Regions from separate parts of the Homo sapiens genome. Here regions 1 and 3 are each linked to region 2. The links are contacts of gene promoters, found by promoter capture Hi-C in blood cells and fetal thymus (Javierre and others, 2016). All regions are on one chromosome and are shown on one strand. Each heading gives the region's core, a stretch centred on a gene start or on the middle of the fragment in contact. The rest is flanking DNA. Distances are from core to core; before and after follow the strand shown.

Region 1 (4,138 bases), core at 39-2,538, 570 kb before region 2:
ATTTGTCTGTCTGTATTTGTAAAAGGGCCCGGAGGTATAAGCTCGTGTGTCTCAGGAAGCAAGTTATGCCTCCGCCTACTATACCAAATACTATACCAAATGGTGTAATTAGTGGCTGTCTGCAGTGTGAGCTGCTGGTTCCCTCTTTTTGGTTCTCAATGGAAAGGGCCATCCTCAGTATATAGATTAGAAAGATAATTGTAACTTAGTTGTGTTATCTCATGACAGCAGCAAAAGGAAGGTATGTGGTTTCAAAGGTAGGGACCGACCATGCTTTCCCTTAAACGTGTGCTATCCCTGCACGACCTTAAGCCTCTGCATTTGCCTGCAGTGAACTTCCGTCCATGTGCGGACACTCCTCCGCCGGAGCCGCTAGGGGGAACTTGAGGACTGAAAGACATTGCTGTTTCCTGTTTTCCACAACCAGCCGGACCCCACGTGCCCAACTGCCCTGAGTTTCAAGACTGTGCTTTCATAGCTTCAGAATTTATTTCATGGCCAGAGGCTCCGTGAAAAACAGACATTTCTTTTCATGTTGTTGACCAGAATATTTTGCTGGACTTAGTTAAAAAAAAAAAAAAGGAAAAAAAAAAGGCAGGGAGGGTGAGAGATGAATATTTATTTGCTCTTGGATATTTGCATTTTTGAATAATTGGCAAGTAGGAAGCTTTGCCAATTCACTGTTCAGTCTAATAAGGTTTTGAGACGAAATGTACCAACACCCCAAGTACTTTTAGTGTTTTTGTTATGAAACTTTTCAGGGTGACATGAAGCCCTGTGGTATTTGTGAGGAGGTCTATAAATGATGGATTTGCTCACCTCAAAATAGAACTGTAGTCGCTCCAAATTTTCCAGAAGTGGGAGCACAGTGACAGAATTCATTCAGGACTTGCTAATTTCCTACTTTAAATGGGTTACATAACAGAACCGGTCCCGCCTTCGCGCCTCTCAAAACTACCCATGAAGTGATGGTGAAATGTATCATTAAAAGCTAGAAATAGCTCTGCTAAACTCTGGGAAAAAGATGAATTTTTTTCTGATCTCCCTCTCCCCACCCCCCTTTTTTCACCCAAACATTGCATAATGTTAAAAAAGTCAAATCTTTCCGTGGGATTTAATTTCATTTTCCATGTGGCTGTGGTCGGAGGGGTAACTCAAGCACTTTGGGGGCTGGTGGATTTTTGGAGGATCACGCATTCCCGGATCAGTTTGCATCCAAAGCCTTAGCCGAGAAATACACCCAATCCTGGGGTTTCTCCCCATCCCTCCTGCCCCCCTTTTGTGGATGAGTTATCTATAACATAGCATCTTTTCAGAAAGCCTGCCTTCTTGCAGGAATGCCCAAACAAAGCCACCCTCCACTTTCCATGTTGACGTTTTGATTTTGAAATGGATTCCCCCTGAAATTTGGGGTAACTGAGTCACATGTGAAGTCATCGGCCCCACAACCTATGCTTGATACCAAGCCAGGGCTCATTTCTTAGAATTCAGCCAGCAGGTTCTGTTTGCTTACATTAAGAACTTGGTGTTCTAAGCCTGTGGTGTTTGTTTTCAAGAGATTTAAAAGAAATACATTTTTTTTCTTTGATCAGATCAGGTCCAGATAAGCCCAGGACTATTTTTTATTTCCTTTGAGAAAGATTGCAGAGTCCAGAAGGAATGGAAAAAGTGTTGGGGGATGGGTAGGAGATGTGCAGAATATGCTGACATTTTTATTCCTTCATTGATCAAATATTTGCTGAGCACTTCCTATGTGTTAGGCACTGTTCTTGGGGCTGGAGGCGTGGCAGGGAACCAGACAAGCGTAGTGTCTGCCCTCATAGTGATTACACTCTGTGTGTGTGTGTGTGTATGTGTGTGAAAGACAATAAACAGATTAAGACTAACATCAGGTGGAGAGAAAGCTTCCTAAGATAAAGCAGCCTAAGGGTTAGGCAGAGGATGACAACCAGGTAGGAATAAAGGTGGGGAAAGTGCTGGGAGTCAGAGATGGGCCCACTGGAGCAGAGGGCTGCAGGATGAGAAGGAGGGTGCTGTGCACCTCTGGACCCTGTAAGAGCAGAAGCTGGTAGTGATGCCCCCCAACCTATCCATGTGGGTGCCAGCCACACCGTCCCCCTCAATTTTCTCATGCCTTGTGGGGTTTTTTTTTTTAATCTCAAGGAAATTCTGCTTTCTATTCCATTAGTGGATTTAATGTAAAAAAAAAAGTTTTTAATGATTGGCCAATTCTATTCTCCAAGATCCCCAAGTAAATGGATTCTTTTTTTTTTTTTTTTTTTTGAGACAGAGTCTTGCATTGTCACCCAGGCTGGAGTGCAGTGGCACGATCTTGGGTCACTGCAACCTCTGCCTCCCAGGTTCAAGCAATTCTCCTGCTTCAACCTCCCGAGTAGCTGGGATTACAGGCACGTGCCACCACACCTGGCTAATTTTGGTATTTTTAGTAGAGGCGGGGTTTCACCATGTTGGCCAGGCTGGTCTCAAACTCCTGATCTCAAGTGATCTGCCTGCCTTGGCCTCCCGAAGTGTTGGAATTACAGGCATGAGCCACCGTGCCCAGCCAGTCAATGGATTCTTGAGGAGTCCCTTTGCTTTCTCCTTGGGCTGCCCCATGAGGGGTATGTTCTCTAGTCAGGGATGCCCAGGCCAGCCTAGCATACTGGGGGGAGGTTCATTTCTAACTTTGAACAATGGCTAAGGCCACAGGACCCTGGGCAAGTTTGCAAAGGCAGAGCGTCATTCAGAGAGATCTGGGGAAGTGACATTGTGGTTGCAGTGTGTGCAAAGGCCCCGGGGTAGGAAAGGCTGGGCATGTCGGAGGGGCACAGGGCTGGAGTGCTGAGACCGAGGGGGTGGGGCATGGAGGAGGTGAGGTCAGGGAGATAGGGAGGGCCTGCAGACCTTGGCATTCGGACTAAAGAGTCCGTTGCAGAACGAGCAAGCATTATTAAAGTTAGCCCTCTACACTGAACCATGTTCGAGGGCCCCTTTCACTCCTTCTCTTCTACCCCGCCTCACCGACCCTTTCCCACCTGTTCTCATTTCTGCGTCTATGTCCGAGGAGGCTCAGGTGCAACCCTTTCCATTGGAACCAACCCACTCCCATGCCCAGTGGTTCTGCATGACTTTATTGACATAACCACACTAGTAAATAAAGGAGAGAAGAAGCCAGTCCTTGGATGAAGTTTCCTCTTGCTTTTCCAGCGAATGATACGATGGGTCTCTGTTCAGCCCTGTAGCCTGGGGTGCTTTTGGCAGAGGTGCCTTTTCCTTCGACAGTCCTGGAAAGCAGGCTGCATAAACCAGCTGCCTAGAACTGGGAGGTGAGTGCGGAGGAAGAATAGGTAGAGAAAACTTAACTGGCTCATGTTCTTCGAAGCTGCCACATTTCCCGAATATGCCCACTTGGGTCAGATTTCGAAGGCGAAGCCTTTTGCAGTCATGAACTGCGGGAGCCCAGGCTGTGTTCAAATTCCTCCGGAAGAAAGAAAGAATAAACGAGAACAGGCTGTGGAAAAGAATGTAGTTAGTGTCTTAAAGATGGCCAAATATTCATTCTCATTTGTCCTTTTATATGAAACAGATTTTTAAAAAGGCAATTGGAGTAGCTAATGACATCCAGAACCCCGTTGATTCGAGTGGGGCTGGGGGTGGGGGCTTAAATTGGCCCAAACAGCTAATCAGGCCGAAAGAAAGAGGTGAGTTGATTACCCTGGAAATTGCACAGGAATTCTTCAAAGATGTGGCCAATAATTAGAGTTTAAGATGCTACTCTTTATGCACATAACTTAGCATAATTTTATTAGGCAGCTCATCACCAACAGAATTAGTGAAAATCAGGCCAGAAAAAATCTGAGAGCCAGGCTTATGCAGACGTGGAGGCTTTTGCTCTAAAATGGTCTGCTCACGCTTGGGGAAGACCCCAAGAGAAAGCACTACCTTTCTTCTGGGCCCTGAGCGGGTTGGGAGTGGAAATGAATCAGAGCCATTTCAGGGGGCTGTGCTGGAGTTGGGGACAATGTGGCCTGGACCTAGCTGGGACGGACACAGACTTGGTTTGAACACCAGTTTCCCCACTTACTGGTGAGTGAGATGGGGCCAATTCCTTAAATTCTGACCTCCCATTCCTTGCCTG
Region 2 (4,231 bases), core at 1,377-3,876:
GTAAAAAAGATAGAAACATGGCCAGGTGCAGCGGCTCACATCTGTAATCCCAGCACTTTGGGAGGCCAAGGTGGGTGGATGTCTTAAGCCTAGGAGTTCCAGACCCGCCTGTCTCTGCAAAAAATATATTTTGTTTTAAATTAGTGGTGCATGGTGGTGTGTGGTAGTCCCAGCTACTCAGAAGTCTGAGGCAGGAGGATCCCTAGAGCCCAGGAGTTAGAGGTTACAGTGAGCTATGATTGCACCACTGCACTCCAGCGGGTGACAGAGTCAGACCCTGTCTCAAAAACAAGATAGAGAGCAATTTTCTGGCTGGGTGCAGTGGCTCACGCCTGTAATTCCAGCATTTTGGGAGGCTGAGGCTGGCGGATCACTTGAGGTTGCGAGTTCAAAACTAGCCTGGCTAACATGGTGAGACTCCGTCTCTACTAAAAATACAAAAATTAGCTGGGCATGGTGGCACACACCTGTAGTCCCAGCTACTCAGGAGGCTGAGGCAGGAGAATCGCTTGAACCCAGGGGGATGGAAGTTGCAGTGAGCTGAGATCACACCACTGCACTCCAGCCTGGGAGACACAGAGAGACTATGTCTCAAAAAAAAAAAAAAAAAAAAAAATTTCAGATGGGAAAGGAAGGCAGAAGCCTGATCCACCACAAGAGGAGTGTTTCTCAATATGTAATCCAGGGACCCTCTGACAACAAAAGCCCACCCCACCCCACTCAGGCCCCTCCCCCACACTGCTGGTTGGTCTCTTTGATGTTTCTCAGACATGCCTCCTTCTCTCCTGCTTGAAGGCCAGTGCCTTTGATGTTCTGTCCACCTAGAAAGCTCTCTTCCCATCTTGCCAGATGGGCTCCTTCTGGCTCAGGGCTCCATGTAACCATCACCTCCACAGGAGCCCTCCCCCATTATTCTATCTAAAGTGGCCTCTCTGGCTTCATTCTGCAATCACGTATTTCAGCAGTTTCCCAATTCTGCCAAGCCCCCAGTAGAAGGTGAGCTCTTGGAAACAGGTCCTTAGGCAGATCCTTGTCTGTCCAGGCCTCCACCTCACCAGTAAGCCAGTGTTTTTATTCTTGTTGTTTTAGAGGCTGGATCTCGCTCAGTCACGCAGGCTGGATTGCAGTGGTGCCATCATAGTGCACTATAACCTGGAACTCCTATGCTCCACCCGGCTGGGACTGCCGCGCAGGCTAGTGTGCCCTGCGCTCATTTCTTAGGGTTAACCCTAACCCACTTAATGAGCACCCACGACTCCCCAACCCGAGCCCCACTCAAGCAGAAGGCCTCAGGCTGGTCGGCAGCAGGGTTTCTTCATGTCCTTTCTTGGTTCTCTGATGATAGGCAAAGGCAGTAGAGACAGAAAGGAAAAGAGGAACGGAGTGCAAGAGACAGAAAGGAGAAGAGGAACGGAGTGCAAGAGACAGAAAGGAGAAGAGGAACGGAGTGCAAGGCAAGCCACCCTAAGAGGCCAGCCCTGCCAGCAGCACAGATCCCTCCAAACCAATAGGTCCCTCCAACTCAGTAGATTCCTCCAACCCAATAGATCCCTCCAACCCAACCTCCAGCATCTGTGCAGCATCCTACCAACTCCGAGGCTAGGCGGCCACACTGGGAGCAAGACCCCAGGACCTGGTCCAAGTGCCCTGCACCGGCCAGGGGAGTGGACGACGAAGTGCGGCTCTGCTAGCCCGGGAGGGCTCTGGGGCCTCGGCCCCGCGGGACTGGAAGGGAAAACACCTGGCACGGTACGTACTGGCCCTAGGAATTTGGCACAGCAAGATGCTGGCAGTCCCTGGGTGGCGGTGGCAGGAAGGGCCCAAGGGCAACATTGGTCTAGGAGGTCGAGAAAAGGCGCGCGATATATGGCCCCCAGGATGTGGAAGCTTGCTTGGAGCGTTCGGCTCCAGGGCAGCAGCGCGTGGAGGGCCTCAAGGATGCAGTATTTGCCCGGGGTAGGGGGGCGAGGGACCCAGAGGCAGCAGTGCACTTGGACTTCCAGGACTTCCAGGGAAAGGCAGGAGACATGGCGCATGTGGTTCCCAGGATGTGTAAGCGCGTGGAGCGCGGCCCCGGGGCAGCGGAGAGTGGGGTTTTAATATCTAGCACATGTAGACCCTGGGGCGGTGCTGCTAGGGGCGCGGACCCGGGACCACCGGAGCACTTGCACCGCGGGGAAAGCTGACAGGGCGCGCGACCCTAGGAGGCTGCCGCGCCGCCTGGTGCGTGAAGCTCCAGGGCAGCGGAGCGCGGGGACCTTGAAGGCTGTCGCGTGCAGGCGAAGGGGCCGCAGGGTGGTCGCTCCTGGGAGAGCAGACGGGGAAGAAGGCAACGGGAGGGAGGGCGTAGCGCGAGCAGTCCCGGACGCGGGCTCAGGAACTGGCCGCGAGGAGCGCAATCCAGCAGGCGCGCCAGGGCCCCCGGATCCAAGGTGCGGGGTCCCGATTGGGCGCCTGGACGCCCCGTGACGGTGGCGCCGCTGCCACTGTCCCGAAGCGAGGCGAGGCCAGGCGCTGCGCTTTCGGCTGCCCGCCCCTTCTCCCCGCCCCGCGCTCAGTCCCCTCCCTCCGTCCCGCCTCCTGCCTCGCTCCCTCCCTCGGCGGCTGCTGCGCCGCGCTCCCGGCGCACTCGGAGCCCGGCGGGGACCGGGAGGCAGAGACGGGGCGGCCGTGGCTCCGAGGGCGGGAGCTGAGCCGGGCCCCGGGACCGAAGTTTGGCGGCGGCTCCGGGAGGCAGAGCGGGCTCCCCGGGCGACTTCCAGGCCCCTCTCGCGTCCTCGCCCCGGACCCGTGGGCAGCCGGGGGGAACGGAAGCCGCGGCCGGGCCAACTCCGAGGCGGGGACGCCGCGACGGGAACTTGAGGTGGGAACTTTGCGCGCTGCAGCCTCGCCGGGCGCCACCGAAGCGCGAACCGGACCCCGAGCCTGCAAACTCGGGCTCGGGGGCGGCTGCACGTGGCCGTGGCCCTGAACTCCCTGCGGGGGCCTCGAAACCCGCCTGCGGGGAGGCCAGGGCGACAGAGGACTCGGGAGTCACCGCTGGTGCGTGGCGGCGTGGAGCGCGCTTGTTACGGCCAAGGTGCGGGTCCGGCTTCGGTTCATCCCAAGGGGTCACCGGGATGCGAAGTCCGGGACGTTCGCCGCCGCGGTGACCCCGGCGGGGGCGCATCCCGGCTGTGGGCCGAGGTTTCTCCCCCGATCCTGGGAGGAAGGAGAGTTAGGGATTGGGGTGGGGGAGTGTGTGTCACTTGCTCATTCACTGTATCCTTAGGCACAGTATGGAGCCCCCCTTCACCCCCACCGTGGGCCTGATTGAGTCATTCATTATGAACACAGCAAGCGTTTATTGAGCGCCTACTGTGTGCTAGGCACTGGGGATACTGAGACAGTTCACTGGGCACCCCCAGGAACTGGTAGGAAGGTGGTGGTCTCAGCCTTAGGGTTTCCATGTGGGAGAGAGGCTCAGCCCGGAGGTATGGAAGGAAAAGGGTGAAGTTCATTCATTCATTCATAGATTGGACAAAGATTGGTTGAGCACCTATTGTAAGCAGCTCATCATACCAAGCGCTCAACAGTCATTCATCCAGTTCACAAACATTTATGGAGGCGCTATGCTGGGGAGAAGTGAAGAGGGATGGAATGGGGGCACCCTTCATGCAGCTTAGAGAGAAGTAAGGATTAAGACCCAGGCCCCCGCTTGGGAGGCCGCAGACTGCCGGGGTGGCCAACTGTAGCAGCCCATGTATATAGGCAGAAGTCTTGGTTCATCTAATGCATTCCTTCTCAAGGTGGGAGGTGTGGAAGCTGGAATTGGTTCTAGAATAGGAAGAAAAGATCTTTTCAAAGCTCCTTAGGGGCGGGTGATGGGGTAGGGTGGGGAGGAGTTGAGAAACACTGATCCGACATTACTGAGGAATGCAGGTTCCCACCAATGGGGTTTATGAGTTAGGTTGTCCATTCAGCAGGCATTTTCTTAAGCACTCGCTGTTATTAAGCACTTAAAGGGTGCCAGGCACCAAAGTTACCCAGGTAAATGACAGACACATAGAAGAGGGAGACAGACACAGACGCCCCCACCCCCTTTGCTGACTCCCTGAGATAAGTACAGGGGGAAGTAAGAGGAGGGAGCAGGAACTGGTCTGATTCATTGTGGGGTGGGGGAAGTTCCTGCCCTATGAATCTGAGCAGAGGTTTATTCATTAGTGTGTGTTTGATACCCCCATACCCATGA
Region 3 (4,166 bases), core at 1,532-4,031, 780 kb before region 2:
CCAACCAGGTCCTTTGGTTTAATAAATAACTTTTTTGTTGTTGTTTTTTCATGAGACAGAGTCTCACTCTGTCGCCCAGGTTGGAGTGCAGTAGCTAGATCTTGGCTCACTGCAACCACCGCCTCCTGGATTCAAGTGATTCTCCTCCGTCAGGCTCCTGAGTAGCTGGGATTACAGGCATGCGCCACCACAACCAGCTAATTTTTGTATTTTTAGTAGAGATGGAGTTTTACCGTGTTGGCCAGGCTAGTCTCGAACTCCTGACCTCTGGTGACCCGCCAGTCTTGGCCTCCCAGAGTGCTGGGATTACAGGCGTGAGACACTGTGCTCAGCCTGAAACAACTTTTGATTACGGACTTGCCTGTTGCTATGCCCTCCGTTCATCCCCTGCTTTGCTCTAGGACTTACTTTATTTTCCACCAACTGGCTCCTGGCTGCAGCTGTTAAACTGGGGGTAGATTCAAAACATGTACTGTGTCCTGCTTTTCTTGATATGACATTTGTGGAAGGTTTCCATTTGAGGGAAACTTCTTGACTTCATCTGTTGGAGTGATTTCTGAAGACCCAAGATTTTTCTAGGACACTTTAAATTTAGTTTACTGTACTCCGATTTTTCTTCTTTAGCTATCTTCTCTATATTCAGCTATAGTTGGAAGACAGGTATTAGGATGTGATAGAATTTTGGAGTCAGACTTAGAAACTGACCACCGGCTTAGAAACTGACCACCAGCTCAGCCAGTTTCTAATTAAGTCACTTCATGTCTTTGAGCCTCAGTTTCAAAATGGAGAGGACAATAGGGCCAACCTCCATGGGAAGATAAAACAAGGCGGTGTGCATTCATTTAATGCAGTCTGTGGCATGTACAAGGGGCTCAATCAATTATTATTATTACTATCACTTGGAGAGTCAAGCGGCACAATTTTGTCTCGTAGTAAGGCTAACATGTTACAACTATCATCTACTAAAATAAATATAAACAACTATATAAATGAAATTTTCCTTAACCCAATAGTATTTTTTGAGCCATAAACCCACTGCACATTCGTTTAGATTTGTAAGTTAGATCTCCTGCCACACTATCTTACACAGAAAAGGTGTTGAGAATATTAGTAGATTAGTCAGCAAGGCAGGTGCTAATTGGCCTTTTTACTCAGTATCAGAATTCTAAACTGCTTCTATGTATTATTAAACCAAATTCTTACCTTTTCAATCTGGCTGTTGGCTATAATTCTGTCTTACTTGCTTTAAATATTATACATAAAATAAGGCAAGACTTTTTCAGAGACTCAAAAATTGAAGGTTAATCTTCCTTCAACAAGTTTTTACTGATGGCCACGAATATAAAAAAGATGATCAAGCTGATTTATTTTCTGCCTTGGGTTGTCCAAATACCCAGGTGAACACATTGATGAGCCCAGCATTCCATTTTGCTTGTATTCCTGATGAGTTTACAAGCTGGGAACGTGATGAATAACTAATCAAGAGAATGCAATGCACAAATGTGGAGGGAGGGTTTATATCTGCACAGTCCCTTACAATGAAGTAAATGCCAAACAAAGACGCATGCCCAGAGCAGTTATGGAAAGACCAATCAAAGACTTAGCAGGTTGATGATTTCATCATTCATTTAACATTTATTGAGCATGTACATTGTGTAAAGCAGTTAGCCAAATTAAGTATACATGAATTTACGGTATAAATGTGTATACATGTAATATATCATATACACACACACAAGCCCCACTTTAAAAAATTCCAGGCATCATGTGTCAATGATACAATCACTTTGAACGATACACCTTTTCTGTAATAATGTGTGTATTGCACAAAAAAATTCCAATAGTGATTAGTAACAACCAGATACTGTGACAGTGCCCCATTGCCATTCCATGGGAGATGCAAGAGCATTGTCTCAGTAATAAAATATGATGTTATCAGGCATTTATGGCTCCTGGGGAAAAAAATGCAATTGCTTGCTGTTTTGATATTATCTCTGACTATGCTTGCTTATCATTTGCCATTTCTATATTTAGTAGCCAGTCATTTTGAAGTTAAAAAAAAATCAAGGTTTGCATTGTAACCACAAACCAGTCTTTGTGAACAGGAATCCTGGAGGCTATTAATCAGCTTTTAAAGGAGGTAAGTCATGGTGGTGGTGGGGTATCTGAAATTTTGGAAGTTCCGAGCTCACTTTAAGAGTTGAGATGGGTGGGAGGGCTGAAAACACCACCATTCATCATTCTTCAGTTATCTCGAGACTCAACTTAAACATTTTTAATCAAAAAGATGGGAGGGGACACGGGTCACATCTCAGGTTTGGGGGAATGTGTGTGCGTGTAGATGTGAAAACTGAGCCAAAATATTCCACTGTGAAGAGATCTCCCTTCTCGGCTGGTGGACATCAACCTTACCAAGTAATCTTTGGAGCAAGTAACTACCAAATAAAGCCGTTCCAAAACTTCTACGTAAGCTCCTACTTTTTAATGAGTACGCATTTCTCCCCATTTTCTTTTCCTCTCCAAGGACTGAGATAGCTGGAGCAAGGATGGGTCCCCCTCTGATTTCGTCCCCGCCCCAGCCAATCTGAGCCCGGATGCTAATTAGCTGCGCTCCCCTGATGAACACGCCTTTGTCACAAGTAGGCCCGGACTACAAAGCCCAGAATGCCTCACCCCTCCCTGATCAATGAGGGCTTATTTAAATGATCTCTGAGGTCTTGGACCCAGGCCAATCAGCTGTCAGGGCTCATGATAAATCGCAATGCATTATTGATAATAATAATTACTGGGACATGCGCGTTCCGGCCGAAGGGGGGTAAATTTCCCAACTCCAGGAATTTGTGGCGGAGAGGGCAAATAACTGCGGCTCTCCCGGCGCCCCGATGCTCGCACCATGTCGAGGCGCAAGCAGGCGAAACCCCAGCACATCAACTCGGAGGAGGACCAGGGCGAGCAGCAGCCGCAGCAGCAGACCCCGGAGTTTGCAGATGCGGCCCCAGCGGCGCCCGCGGCGGGGGAGCTGGGTGAGTGGGGCTGGGGCGCCCGCCCGGGGAGGGGAGCTTCCCGGACGTACGCGGGATCCTCGAGGGCGCAGGCTTCGGGGAGCGGGCGGCGTCCAGCGCAAATTCAGGAGCCGAGATTTGGGGGCTCAGTGCCCGGGAGGAGAGGTCTCCTCCTCTCCCCACCACCCCGCCTTTTGCACATTTCACACTTTTTTCCTCTTCTCCCCTCTTGTGTAAGTTTCACCCCCAGCTTTCTCCCCTAATTGTAAAATTGACCCCCACTCGCTCCTCTGTTCTCGCTCCCGAAAGGTTCCCTTCTCCTTGTCCTCTGCCCCTCACTTAATTGGTTCCACTCCCCTCACTGGTGTTACCCCCCCCCCTTGTAACTTAGGTCCCCCTCCCTCGCGTCGCTCTCAAAAGAAAGAACCCCGGGGGATCCCCACCCTCTCCACCAGCCCCTTGGGGCTTTTCTTGGAGGCTGGAGGAGGGGCGCACCCCTGGAAGACCCCCCGGAGGAGGACGATCTGTTGCACGCGCCCCTCCCGGGCCAAGTGGGGGGAGGGGGCGCGACCTCTCCCCACCCTCAGGAGCTGGGGTGCGGGCCACCCGCGCTGCGCAGGGGATTGGAGGGCCCAGAGAGGTGGGGGAGGAGGGCTCAATGTTTCCCTTTAAAATTTTTTTCTTTTCTGGATTTCGCCTTTTCTGCCCGGGCTGCGCCGCCTGCCGATCTTCGCCCTAACCTTTCGGGGCCTGACCTCCAGCCATCTTTGATTTCCGACTTCCTAAAAATAACCGCGGCAAGCCCGAGGGTGCGAGCCCCCAGTGGCCGGGGTGGCGGGCGCGCGGCAGCCCCACTGGGGTGCACCGGCCTCCCGTTTTGCGTGGCTTTTCTGGAGCGCTCGGCTTTCCACATTTGCGCTTGGGTGTGAAAGGGGAGAGGTGGGGGGCCAGAGCGAACTCCCGCGGCTGACCTGGCCCACGCTTCCGCGGCCAGCGTTTCCCAGATCGAGGGGAGTTCGGGACCCCAGCCGCGCCAGGAACGGCGGGGCCAACTCTGTTCCCACTTCATCACTTCACCGCGGAGGTTTTAGGAGCGAGGCGGTTTTCCACTATCTCGTCTCCATCCCGGCCCGCCAAATTGTCGCCTGATAAGTTTTTAGCGTG

What was found. Contacts are between HindIII fragments. The CHiCAGO score rates a contact against its expected background, and 5 or more counts as called.
Region 1: a contact is called between a fragment that was not itself captured here and the fragment with the promoter of KCNG1 in region 2, in 4 of 17 cell types (M0 macrophages, naive B cells, monocytes and 1 more). The highest score is 7.0, in M0 macrophages.
Region 3: a contact is called between the fragment with the promoter of SALL4 here and the fragment with the promoter of KCNG1 in region 2, in 4 of 17 cell types (non-activated CD4 T cells, M0 macrophages, total CD8 T cells and 1 more). The highest score is 7.8, in non-activated CD4 T cells.

What each region holds. Positions count from the first base shown.
Region 1 is chr20:51,591,422-51,595,559 of GRCh38, reverse strand. No RefSeq gene overlaps it. Among named protein-coding and RNA genes, the nearest start is that of NFATC2, 51 kb to the right of the region's middle. The HindIII fragment of the contact is 1,237 bases long and covers 670-1,906 here.
Region 2 is chr20:51,021,502-51,025,732 of GRCh38, reverse strand. It overlaps KCNG1 (potassium voltage-gated channel modifier subfamily G member 1), which reads left to right and starts at 2,626. Exons shown (of 3, transcript NM_002237.4): 1 at 2,626-2,863. RefSeq lists a silencer at 2,528-2,697. The HindIII fragment of the contact is 2,899 bases long and covers 1,890-4,231 here.
Region 3 is chr20:51,801,136-51,805,301 of GRCh38, reverse strand. SALL4 (spalt like transcription factor 4) reads left to right here and starts at 2,781. Exons shown (of 4, transcript NM_020436.5): 1 at 2,781-3,023. The coding sequence starts at 2,894. RefSeq lists enhancers at 2,435-3,076, 3,720-4,166. The HindIII fragment of the contact is 4,794 bases long and covers 1-4,166 here.